Linked DNA regions of Homo sapiens: region 2 is linked to region 1. The links are contacts of gene promoters, found by promoter capture Hi-C in blood cells and fetal thymus (Javierre and others, 2016). All regions are on one chromosome and are shown on one strand. The core of a region is centred on a gene start or on the middle of the fragment in contact, and the rest is flanking DNA. Distances in the headings are between cores, read along the strand shown.

The links. Contacts are between HindIII fragments. The CHiCAGO score rates a contact against its expected background, and 5 or more counts as called.
Region 2: a contact is called between a fragment that was not itself captured here and the fragment with the promoter of LILRB2 in region 1, in 1 of 17 cell types (M0 macrophages). The highest score is 5.3, in M0 macrophages.

The regions. Positions count from the first base shown.
Region 1 is chr19:54,277,870-54,283,765 of GRCh38, forward strand. It overlaps LILRB2 (leukocyte immunoglobulin like receptor B2), which reads right to left and starts at 3,241. Exons shown (of 14, transcript NM_001080978.4): 1 at 3,092-3,241; 2 at 2,594-2,675; 3 at 2,395-2,430; 4 at 1,922-2,206; 5 at 1,476-1,778; 6 at 943-1,239; 7 at 391-693; 8 at 20-70. The coding sequence starts at 2,627. MIR4752 (microRNA 4752) reads left to right here and starts at 4,240; the gene lies at 4,240-4,311. RefSeq lists an enhancer at 1,155-2,354. The HindIII fragment of the contact is 13,229 bases long and covers 1-4,326 here.
Region 2 is chr19:54,321,638-54,327,533 of GRCh38, forward strand. No RefSeq gene overlaps it. Among named protein-coding and RNA genes, the nearest start is that of LILRA5, 11 kb to the left of the region's middle. RefSeq lists a silencer at 3,540-3,834. The HindIII fragment of the contact is 479 bases long and covers 2,656-3,134 here.

The DNA.
Region 1 (5,896 bases), core at 1,991-4,490:
AGAGGCCTCAGGGACTCACCAGGTGTGGAGATGGGACCGGTGGGTGGGGGGCTGGAACCCATGGAGGGTCCTGGGTGAAAGAATGAGAGGAGGGTGAGGAGCTGGGGCTTTCCTGAAGTCTCCACCTCAAACCAAATTTCTCTACATGGGCCCTGTGGCCTCCCCAGGCCCCTCCCTCCACCCGCCTCTCCTGTCCATGATGCTGGCGATGCCGCTGAGTGTGCGCAGGCCTGGGAGGGCCTGTTGTCCTCCTTCCCTCTGAGGGTGAGTCTCCCACTGGCTGAGCCCCGCTCAGACCCCCGCTCACTCCATCCCAGCCCAGAGCTCTCCTGGGGGGCAGGGCCTGAGCTGAGCCTTTGAGCTCAGAGAGGACAGGGTCAAGGCCCCCACCTGAGACCACGAGCTCCAGGGGCTCACTGGGGTGAGACAGCAGGTAGGGGTCGGAGTTGAGTGAGCCGTAGCACCTGTAGGTCCCCGCGTGGGCTGAGGTCACAGGACTCATGGGGAATTCAGCCTGGTACTTAGGATATTCGTGTATTGATCTTAGACGGAGTGGGGCATCAGCTGCTCCCGCCTTGGTCAGAAGGAAAGTGTGGAACTGCCGCCATGACTGACACAGCAGGGTCACGTTCTCTCCTGAGGCCACTGTGGGGCCTGGCTGCACTGAGATGAAGGGTGTGCCACGGATCTGTCCTGGAGAGAAGAAGGATGGGTGAGGGGCTGCCCCACCTTGCTCTGAGCTGAGACCTCCCCAGGCCTCTCTAGGAGCCTCTGTCTCTGTTTTCTCTGAGTCTTCCCCTCCCCACCCATCCCCTGTCTCTCTCTCTGTCTCTCCCTCCCTTGGGACCACCCCCCGCCTCATCCTGGCCATCACTAATTGGATTCCCCCGGCAGGGCCTGTGCAGAGTCTGGGTCCCTGACTGAACCCGCTGGGCTCCTCACCTGTGATCAGGATGTCCAGGGGGTCGCTGGGGGCCGAGCACTCAGAGGAGAGGTTGTGTGCACCGTAGCATCTGTACTGGCCCCCGTAGGAGCGGCTCACAGGGCCCAGGGTGAAGTTGGCCTGGGAGAGCCCAGCCTGGGGCTGCCGGCCAGGGAGCTGGCGAAGGTCACGTTCCCCCTCCTTGTACAGAACAAATCTGTCATAGCCGACATCAGAGACACACTGGAGGGTCAGGCTTTCCCCAGGGGCCATGACAGGACCCGGCTGCACTGAGAGTGATGGCTTCTTAGAAACACCTGGGAAAAGGTGCTCATGGTTTCCAGGAGCCGACCCTCAGGCTTCCCCACAAACCCTCCCTCTCCCCCGGTGCCTCACCACTGCTGATCTTCCTGTGTCTCTGGCCCCAGGACCCCTGAGCCCTCTCGCCCCAACATCATCCCACCTGGAACTGCCCTGAGACACGGCTGCTCCCCACCTGCCTGGAGACTCAGGGAGACTCAGGGAACTCCAGACAATGCTGTGAATTTCTCACCTGGGACCAGGAGCTCCAGGAGATCACTGGGTGAAGACCACACATAGGGAGAGTTCAAGTCATAACCATAGCACCTGTGCGACCACCTGCGATTCGGGCTCACGGGGCCCACGGAGAAGATGGCGCGGGACGACCCACGGGCATGGGGCTGGGAGTTCAGGCATTGTGGGTGTTCATCTTCTCCTTCCTTACACAGAATGAAGCCGCCAAATGCCACCTGTGACTCACACTGGAGGGTCACCCTTCCTCCTGAGGTCACCACAGGGCTGGGCTGGGCTGAGAGGGTGGGTTTTGGGTAGGCTCCTAGGAGAGAAGGAGGCATCGTGTTAAATGGGGCTCCCACCTCCCACATCATCCCCAGGGCTGGGCTGTGAGAGGGAGACACCCCTGAGAGCCTCCTTCCTGAGGGCAGAGCCTGGGGCTGGGATCCCTGAGTGTCCTCTCACCTGTCATCACCAGCACCAGGGGGTCACTGAGCTCAGACCACCGAGCGCGGCTGTAATACTGACAGCCATATCGCCCTGTGTGTTCCCAGGTGATGGATGGGATGTGGAACTGGCCGTTCTTCACAAGCTCTGGTCGTATCCGTGTAATCCAAGATGCTGATTTTTTCTCCCTATATAGACGGTACTCCTGGGCTTCAAGGCTCCCCTGACAACTGAGGGTGACGGGACTCCCCTGGGTGATCACAGAGTCTGGCTCAGCCCACAGGGTGGGCTTGGGGATGGTCCCTGGAAGGAAATCAAAGGTCAGATTCGAAGTCATTTCCCACCCAACAGATCTCAGCTCTCAGCCCAGGACCCTCCAGATGCCCCCATCAGTCAGTCCAGAACTTCTAATCCCCATCCCCAGCTGCACGGAGGTGGCCCCTTGTCCCCAGTGAGGAGGAGGGACCTGGGAGAGCTGGGGACAGACTCACCTGTCTGCACGCGGGTCCTGGGGCCCAGACTCAGCCCTGGAAGAGAGTTCCCTGTGAGGGATTTGCCCCCTGAAGCCTGAGCAGGTCCTCCCCTCCCTGGGATCTTTGTGAGCCCCTGGGGTCTCCTTAGGGACCAGAGTTTGGCTGTGGGGTGAGGTCCCTCCTAGGTTAGAAGCTCCCCTCTCTCTTCAAATCTCACCGAGACAGATCAGGACTGTGACGATGGGGGTCATGGCGTCTCCTCCCACTGCCCTGCTCTGCGGATGGATGAGCCCTCGGTGCTGGCGGGACAGAGACACACAGAGAGAAATAGCCTCCCCTCCTTCCCACCCTGTGTGGACACTCAGAGGCTGGGTCCTTCTCATGGGGTGTTGTCATCTGCAGCCACACAAGAAGCGGAACTGCCCTCCCAGGAGCCTGACTCTCATTCTTTTAGAGCTGAGGTGGGGGCAGGCACTGGGCCCTCTGCAGACATTTCAGACTGTAATGGGGTCTTTCCTGACCCCCAGCCACTGTCTGTCTGGTTTCTCCTCGTCTCACCGAGAGCCGGGATGTAGCAGCAAATAGAACTGGTGCTTCTTGTGTCTGCCCTTCCTGATGAGGGTAGCAGTGGCTTCCCCTTCCTTCTCACAGCTTCCCACATGGTCACCCTCCCTCCTTCAGCCCATCCATCAGCACAGCGTTGTGGGGTCCTTACCATGGCAGTCGTCCCTCCAGCCCTGGAGATGCTTCAGGGAAGACCCAGGTCCATGCTGCAGGCAGACTCAGATCAGCAGAGAAGCATCTCGCCTCTGGCTGTGCTGTCCAGGTTGAGCTGTGTGTGGCAGTGAGCACAGAGGAGAAATGCAGGGAAGTAGGGGAAGAAAAGTTGACTTCTTTCTTGACACTGGATTGTGGGTTTTCTTTCAACCAAATAGTCCCCTCTTAACTTCCCCTTTTTAAATGTTTTTGCTCCAGCGTCCACTCCCTCCCCCCCGGGAAGAAACCTCTGAGTCTTTCCTGCCTCCTCGGTGCCCATTGCGTCCTTAGCCGTCCCTCTGCACCTCAATTCCTGGTCAACATTTTGGGAACAATGACTTATGTTTGAGCTTTGATTTGGGGAGTGGGGGAGGGAGTTGATATTTATTTGATGACTGGTTATCATCCGCTGCCTACGTGACCTTGGTTTGTAATGTCCCATCACTGAGCCTCAGTTTCTTCCTTTGCAGATTGTTGTCATGAATCCCACTCGTCACAGTGGTTGTGGGGTCAGTGGTGCCTGGGACATTGGGAGGGGCTCATTTGTGCTTGATTTCCAGACCAGGGTAAGACCTGAGGCTTTGGGACGTGAGAGGATCTTGCTGTTGGACTCCACATTCTGTAGGTGATTGATGAGTCCACTCAAGATGTCACATCTGACCGTAATGGAGAAACGTATGTGTAGCATTTCTGAAATACCCAGAGTATCAAGGTCATGAGCAGAAAAAGACATGTGGAAACCCCAAGTGTAGACGGACTCACAAGAAAGAACAGAGGCCAGAGGTGAGATGCCACAGGGTCCCGGGACCATCAAGGGCTCATTAGGGTGGAGGTTTCCACCACTGAGTGGAGCCGGGAGAGGAACCCCGGGATCTGCAATGACAGTGAGGGGCTCAGGGCTCCAGACCAAGGTGGGAGGCTGCGTCCTCTAGCTACACCTGAGGCTGGAGTGGACCCCAAGCAGCCCAGGGGAATTCCCTCAAGGGAGTGCACCAAACTGTCCAGACCTGCTGGAATTCCAAGGAAAGAAGCACTAAACACCAGGGTGTTCATAGAGCATTTATTAGGGGGACCTCTGCACAGTGGGGCATCCTTGTCTTCTTGCCCAGTGTCTCCTTGTGGATCTCAAGGATGTGCTTCCACATAGCAGCATGTTCTTCAGATGGACAAGGAGACACTGGGTATTCTATCCAAAGCTTTAACCTAAAATAAAAACAAAACCAAAAATAAACCCCTAGAAAATATGATCTCTCAGTACAGTTGTTTCTTGGGATACACAGGCAATTCGTTTCAGTACCCCCTACATGTACCAACACTTGCTCGTACTCCAGCCCTGACGTTGTCTCTGCTGGGTCTGCATATAGGAAAAGTCTGCCGTTCATATACGCAAGTCTTGTTTCTCACAAATGCTATAGTTTTGATCCCCGTTTGTTTGGAAAAAGTGTGCATATAAGAGACCCCTGGAATTCAAGGCTGCATTGCTCCAGGGTTGCCTGGATTTTGAGTTTATTTGGGAGTGAGAAGCAAGGATTACAATATGGAGTGCATGGCATGGCAAGCCACAGTGTGTCCAGAGAGGGAAGTGTGATGTTGTGATATATGCTGGTTTTCACCCGCAGTTCCTGGCTTGTAACTCCCATAGCCCTTGTTATAGTCTTTTGTTATAACATTGGCTGTGCTGGGCCTCAGGGGAGGCCTCTGACCTCCTCCTGCCCTTCCTTCACCTAACCCAAAGTAAGACTCGAATGTTCCCTGCCTTTCTGATAGTGGATCTTAAGACCCTCCCAGAAGACAGTCTCACCCTGTTCCTTGTGGGAGGAAATGCTGATGTCATGAAGCTTTCATAAAAGCCCCAGAGGACTGGGTTTCATGAGTTTCTGGGTGGCTGAGCATGCTAAGGCTCCTGGAGGGCGACGCCCAGGGAGGGTATGGAAGCCCCGGGCCTCTTCCCCCATGCCTCCTCCTATGAGTTTCTTCATCTGTGTCCTCTGCAGTGTGCTTTGTATTCAACCAGGAAATGTCAGTGTTTCCTGAGTTCTGTGAGCTGCTACAGCAAATTAATCAAACCCAAAGAGTGGGGCATGGGATCCCCAACTTGAAGCCAGTCAGTCAGAAGTTCTGGAGGTCTGGACTTGGGAATGGTGTTGGGGGCAGTTTTGGGGAATGGGCCTTCAATCTGTGGGATCCGGGACTGTCTCTGGGTAGACAGCACCAGAGCTGACTTAGAGGACACCCAGCTGCTGTTCGCTACTGCGTCTGGGGAAAAAAACCCCATACATCTGGTCCTAGAAGTCTTTTTCTGTGTTGATGATTCCTGTGACGTGAGAGTAGAGGAAAAGCACCGTAGAGAGAGCTCTCTGTACATAGAGAGGTAAAGGAAGTTCTTATCAGCAACAAGGGAGAGCCTGACAGAGCTGCCTGGAAACAGAGTTCCCTGGTTCCACAGGTTCAAAGCCAGAGTTGCTGTCAGTCCATTGGAGGAGATGCTGTTGCTGGTCAATGGTTCTCTTGAGAGCATCTTATCTGAATTCCTGACGTCCTAAAGAACATCTAGTGATAAACCTTGTCAAAGCAGAAGGGGCTGAAGGACATGGAAGAGTTTCTTATGGGTTTTTTAAAAGTCCTTAGAAACAGTTCTTATCTGAGACGTGGAAGCATGGGCCTCCTCTCCTTCAGGCCTTCCTGGCCCTGTGGGGTCTGAGTTTGACCAAAGTCATCTCATCCTTGCACCTGTAACTTTTCTATTGGGAGTCTGCAGTGAAGG
Region 2 (5,896 bases), core at 1,645-4,144, 43 kb after region 1:
GGCCTGACACCCAGAAAATGCCTTTTTCTCACGAAACTCATTATTCCAGGTGAATACAAACATTAAGAACAAACTTGTACAATTACAAAGCTATTTATTCCAAAATTATGATTTGTAAAACTACAATGACTTGAACCCACTTAATTTCAATCAAAGAAAGACTCAATAAATTCCTGGGCCTCCCCACAGTGGAGTCCTGGGCAGCTGTGGGTGAGATGAATGAGTTATCTTGAAGGCTGACCTTCCAAGACGTGTAGTTGTGTAGTTGGGGTGGCAGGGAGAAAAGAAAAAGAAAGATTCAGGACGTTATCAACAGTTAACTTTATTTTACTCAGAACCAGAGAAAAATGGTATAGTGTTATGTCATTGTGTGTGTATTTTGTAATCTATTTTTTAAAATGAAAGATTAATCAATACCTTTAAAAGTGGGTAGTTGAGAGAGAGAGAGAAAACAGTGCAGAGGAGACAGAATAAAGCTAGACTGACATCATTGTGTCTTGTTTCTTGTTTTGGTATAGAAATATAAACATACCTTTGGGAGGCTGAGGTGGGCGAATCGCAAGATCAGGAGTTCAAGACCAGCCTGGCCAACATGGTGAAACCCCACCTCTACTGAAAATAAAAAGATTAGCTGGGCATGGTGGCACACTCCTGTCATCCCAGCTACTCGGGAGGCTCTGACAGGAGAATTGCTTGAACCTGGGAGGTGGAGATTGCAGTGAGCTGAGACTGTGCCACTGCATTTGTAGGGACCAGCCCCACAGGGTCGGTGGGTCTCTCCCTGTGTGTGGTGACGATAGAGTGTAGAAATAAAGACACAAGACAAAGAGATAAAAGAAAAGGCAGCTGCGCCCGGGGGACCACTACCACCAATGCGCGGAGACCGGTAGTGGCCCCGAATGTTGGGCTGCGCTGTTATTTATTGGATACAAGGCAGAAGGGGCAGGGTAAAGAGTGTGAGTCACCTCCAATGATAGGTAAGGTCACGTGGGTCACGTGTCCACTGGACAGGGGGCCCTTCCCTGCCTGGCAGCCGAGGCAGAGAGGGAGAGGAGACAGAGAGAAAGACAGCTTACGCCATTATTTCTGCATATCAGGGACTATTAGTACTTTCACTAATTTACTACTGCTATCTAGAAGGCAGAGCCAGGTGTACAGGATGGAACATGAAGGCGGACTAGGAGCGTGACCACCGAAGCACAGCATCACAGGGAGACGGTTAGGCCTCCGGATAACTGCGGGCGAGCCTGACTGATGTCAGGCCCTCCACAAGAGGTGGAGGAGCAGAGTCTTCTCTAAACTCCCCCGGGGAAAGGGAGACTCCCTTCCCCAGTCTGCTAAGTAGCGGGTGTTGTTCCTTGCCACTTACGCTACCGCTAGACCACGGTCCGCTTGGCAACGGACGTCTTCCCAGACGCTGGCGTCACCGCTAGACCAAGGAGCCCTCTGGTGGCCCTGTCCGGGCATGACAGAGGGCTCGCACTCTTGTCTTCTGGTCACTTCTCACTGTGTCCCCTCAGCTCCTATCTCTGTATGGCCTGGCTTTTCCTAGGTTATGATTACAGAGGGAGGATTATTATAATATTGGGATAAAGGGTAACTGCTACAAACAAATGATTAATGATATTCATATATAATCATAACTAAGATCTATATCTGGTATAACTATTCTTGTTTTATATTTTATTATACTGGAACAGCTCGTGTCCTCTGTCTCTTGCCTCGGCACCTGGGTGGCTTGCCACCCACAGCATTCTAGCCTGGGCGACGAGCAAGACTCCGTTTAAAAATATATATATATACATATATAAACATATTCCTGAATGTCTATACTATAAAATATTTTTAAATATAACTTATAAATCTAAAGATAATACCTTAAAAAAGGAAATAGAATTGAGTTCCTATCAAATTAGGGCATTACTAAACAAGGAAGAATTATTTGTACTAGAATGTAAGCAAAATTACTTGACCATATATTTTATAATGCATATATTATTTATCATATTATATAATAAATGTATACTTTTAAATCAAATTATATATTATGTAGTGACATATAGTTAATATTATTATATAATTTTGACTATATATAGTAAAACATAAGTGAATACACCCTCAAAAATGTTTAATTCTTAAAATATGTATGGTCAAAAATTCTAAATTTCATCCTAGAGAAATAGCTGACTCCACATTCGGAGAGAAAATACAGGAGATGAAGTCAGAACTTCTTATCATGCAAGAAAGCAAAGACATCACCACATACCATCAGATTCATGTTACCTGAACATAAAGTCTATCATGAAAAGTTCCCAATGGCAAAATGTGGAATATTTATAGAATCAAATAATATAGGTAGTGTATTAAAACTAATGAATATGTTCAAAGCCTATCAGTTTACTACTGTTAAAAACAAAATTAAAAAACAAAAAACCCCTCAAATATGAGGAATGGGAAAAGAACAAAATCTCCACATCAAAAACGTGGAAATGAAGGCAAGAAGCAAGATCTCTTTTGTTTATCTGAAGTGTTACACAGGAAACATTCTTTTCTGTAGAATGTTTCTACATAATAATAAGTATAGTAATAGCTATAGTAATGTTTTTGCCTAAGAATAGCTGTAGAGTTTTTGCATAATAATAGTTAACCCTGCAAAGCTTGGATAACCTGTGCGTTGAGTATACAAGCAATAAACATCAATGGCTGCCAAAACCCTTAGGCTGAAGGTTGATAGTGAATATAATAACGAGTGGATCCTGCTGATAGTACAGCCATCAGTACAGAATTGCAAGGTGGAGAATGCAAGACACAAGCAAATGAGCCATTGTGTCTCACTTCTGACATTTTCTAAGCATCTTTTTCACCATACCCTCAAATCTAGACCGTTATCTGGCTGGGCGTCTCTATGTTTCTTGGATTTGTGTGTCAAACTCTCTAGCGAGTTTAGGAAAATATTCATGGACTATATCCTCAAATATATTTTCCAAGTTGCTTATTCTCTCTTCCCCTTTCAGGAATGCTGACAAGTCATACATTTGGTGTCTTTAGATAATATCATATTTCTCAGAGATTTTGTTCACTTTTAAAAATATTTTTTCCTTATATTTGACTGATTTGATTCAAACAAGTCTTCAAGCTTTGAAATTCTTTTCCTCAGCTTGGTCTATTCTGCTGTTAATGCTTCTCATCGTATTATGAAATTCGTGTCATGAATTTTTCAGCTCGAGAAGTTCAGTTTGGGTGTTTCTTAAAATTTAATCGTTCATGTCATTAATCATTTTACTGGATTGCTTGGCTTCCTTGGATTGAATTTCAACTTTGCTCTTGATTTGAATGACCTTCCTTGCCATCCAGATTCCAAATTCTACGTTTGTCATTTCAGACAATTCATACTGATTAAGAACAATTTCTGGGGAGCTCGTGGACTGGTTTGGAGATAATAGGAGTTATTTCCCTGATTTTTTTTCTCATCTGGGAGGGTTGCTATTCCTTTCATTGCAAGGGTATAAATTGAGTATAGTCTGTTGGCTTTATTTCTGGAAGTTTTCAGGGGACTAAGGCTCTGTACAGGGTCTTTGCTGAATTCTTGCTCTTGGTTTTCCAGGCGGTAGAATTTAGTAAAGTGATTTTTGGTGTTGTAGTGTGGCTGTAATCCAGTAGATGGCGCTTGAGAGCAATAGGCAATAGACAGGCTCTTACTCCACTGCGTGGTGCCTTTGTTTATCTTTGTTCTTGACCTTGATACTTTTGAAAAGGTCAGAGCAGTTTTTTTGTTTTTGTTTTTTGAGACAGGGTCTCACTTTGTCACCCAGGGTGGAGTGCAGTGGCACGATCTTGGATCACTGCAGCCTCAACCTTCCCAGGCTCAGGTAGGTGACAGAGCAGGCAAGTTAACTTAAGGCCTCCTCCTTGGCAATCTGGTCTCAAGTAGGGGACAGGTCCCCACAGACAGAACTGAGGGGCAAGTGTGGCATGGGCTCCAGACCCCGAGCACTGGAATTAGACACCTCTCCTTTGCAGAAAGGTTTAGCCTTTCCTCAAGCGGTTCTGCAAAGGAGAGGTGTAGCTGGGGTGGCGTGGGCAATGGTGGTGGCAGAGTTTGTGTGAAACTTGTCTCTTCCCCAATCACTGTCACTTGTTTCAGGAGACGTTGTAATGTGCTGTATGGTTTGACCTCCAGGCCAGTAGGTGGCAATTGCTGGTGAGAGCCAGTTGTAGCGCTGGCAGTGGGCTTTATGCTTGACCTTTGTTAACCAGAAGCATTCAGGTATCCTAAGTGATGGGTTGGGTTGTGGAAAACTCAGTGGTCTTGATCAGTACTCTGCCTCCAACGCAGGGAAATGAAGGTAAGTGTGGCTGGTCCAGGCAAGCCTGTACTCAGGCCCAATGCTAGGCACAGGCTCCGTCCCCACAGAGGCTACATGTGTGGTTCTCAGGTCCCTGGAGAGACACTCAAGCACTGAGTAGGGCAATGACTATTATGCCAAAGTTACAGCAGAGTTCCCCAGAGGGGCACGTTGGGTTCCAAGCCTAGAAAATGACAGTGGGACTCACTTTAATCTAATGCTCCCAACCCAGCAGAGCTCCTCCCTGTGGCCCAATGCTGGAAGCAATTTCAGACCGTCAAATCACATGCGGTTTGATGTCAGACCACTCAACTACCCCAGGCCACAGATCTTGCCTCCTGGGTAAAATCCATGCCTCTCAGGCTACAACTTTTCCCCCTCGGTTCTGTCAAAGAGAGGTGTCCAACGCCAGTGCTTGGTGTCTGGAGCCCATGCCACAATTGCCTCTCAGTTCTGTCCATGGGGACCTGTCTTCTACTTGAGCCCAGATTGTCAATCTCTGGCCCAAGACTCTCCGAAGTAGTGACCCTCACCCATGTTTGATGTCAAGTTCTTTTTTTTTTTTTTGAGACGGAGTCTCGCTCTGTCGCCCAGGCTGGAGTGCAGTGGCGTGATCTCAGCTCACTGCAAGCTTCGCCTCCCAGGTTCGTGCCATTCTCCTGCCTCAGCCTCCCGAGTAGCTGGGACTACAGGCACCCACCACCGTGCCCGGCTAATTTTTTGTATTTTTAGTAGAGACGGGGTTTCACCGTGTTAGCCAGGATGGTCTTGAACTCCTGACCTCGTGATCCGCCTGCCTCGGCCTCCCAAAGTGCTGGGATTACAAGCATGAGCCACCACGCCCAGCTAATTTTTTGTATTTTTAGTAGAGACGGGGTTTCACCGTGTTAGTCAGGATGGTCTCGATCTCCTGACCTCGTGATCCGCCTGCCTCGGCCTCCCAAAGTGCTGGGATTACAGGCGTGAGCCACCGCGCCGGGCCGATGTCAAGTTCTTGCACTGCCCACTAAGGGTTAGGATCAGGAATGGCCTCTTTCTATCAGCATCCAGGTCTGGGAGCACACATGGAGCACTTCCCTGGGCCCTTCCTTTTCACAGTCCTCCCGCTGTTCCCTAAGTCAGATCCAGGGCTTAGGTCGGTCAAAGAGCTCCCCAGTGGCCTGGATTGCCTGGCTCCCCACTGAGAATGGGTATCATGTGGTCTCATAACTTCCCTCTCAGGCACTGGAAGTTCACTCATGGTTTTCTGCCAGGTCTTGCTGCATGAGCTGCTGCCTGCCTTCTTTTTAGCAGTATCTGAGATTTCCTTCACTTTCATATTCAACTCCTGTATTAGTCCATTTTCAGGCTGCTGATAAAGACATACCCGAGACCAGGTAATTTATAAGAAAAAGAGATTTAATTGACTCACAGTTCCACATGGCTGCAGAGGCCTCACAATCATGGTGGAAGGTGAAAGCAACATCTCACGTGGTGGCAGGTACAGAGGAAATGAGAGCCAAGCAAAAGGGGAAACCCCTTATAAAATCATCAGCTCTTCTGAGACTTAT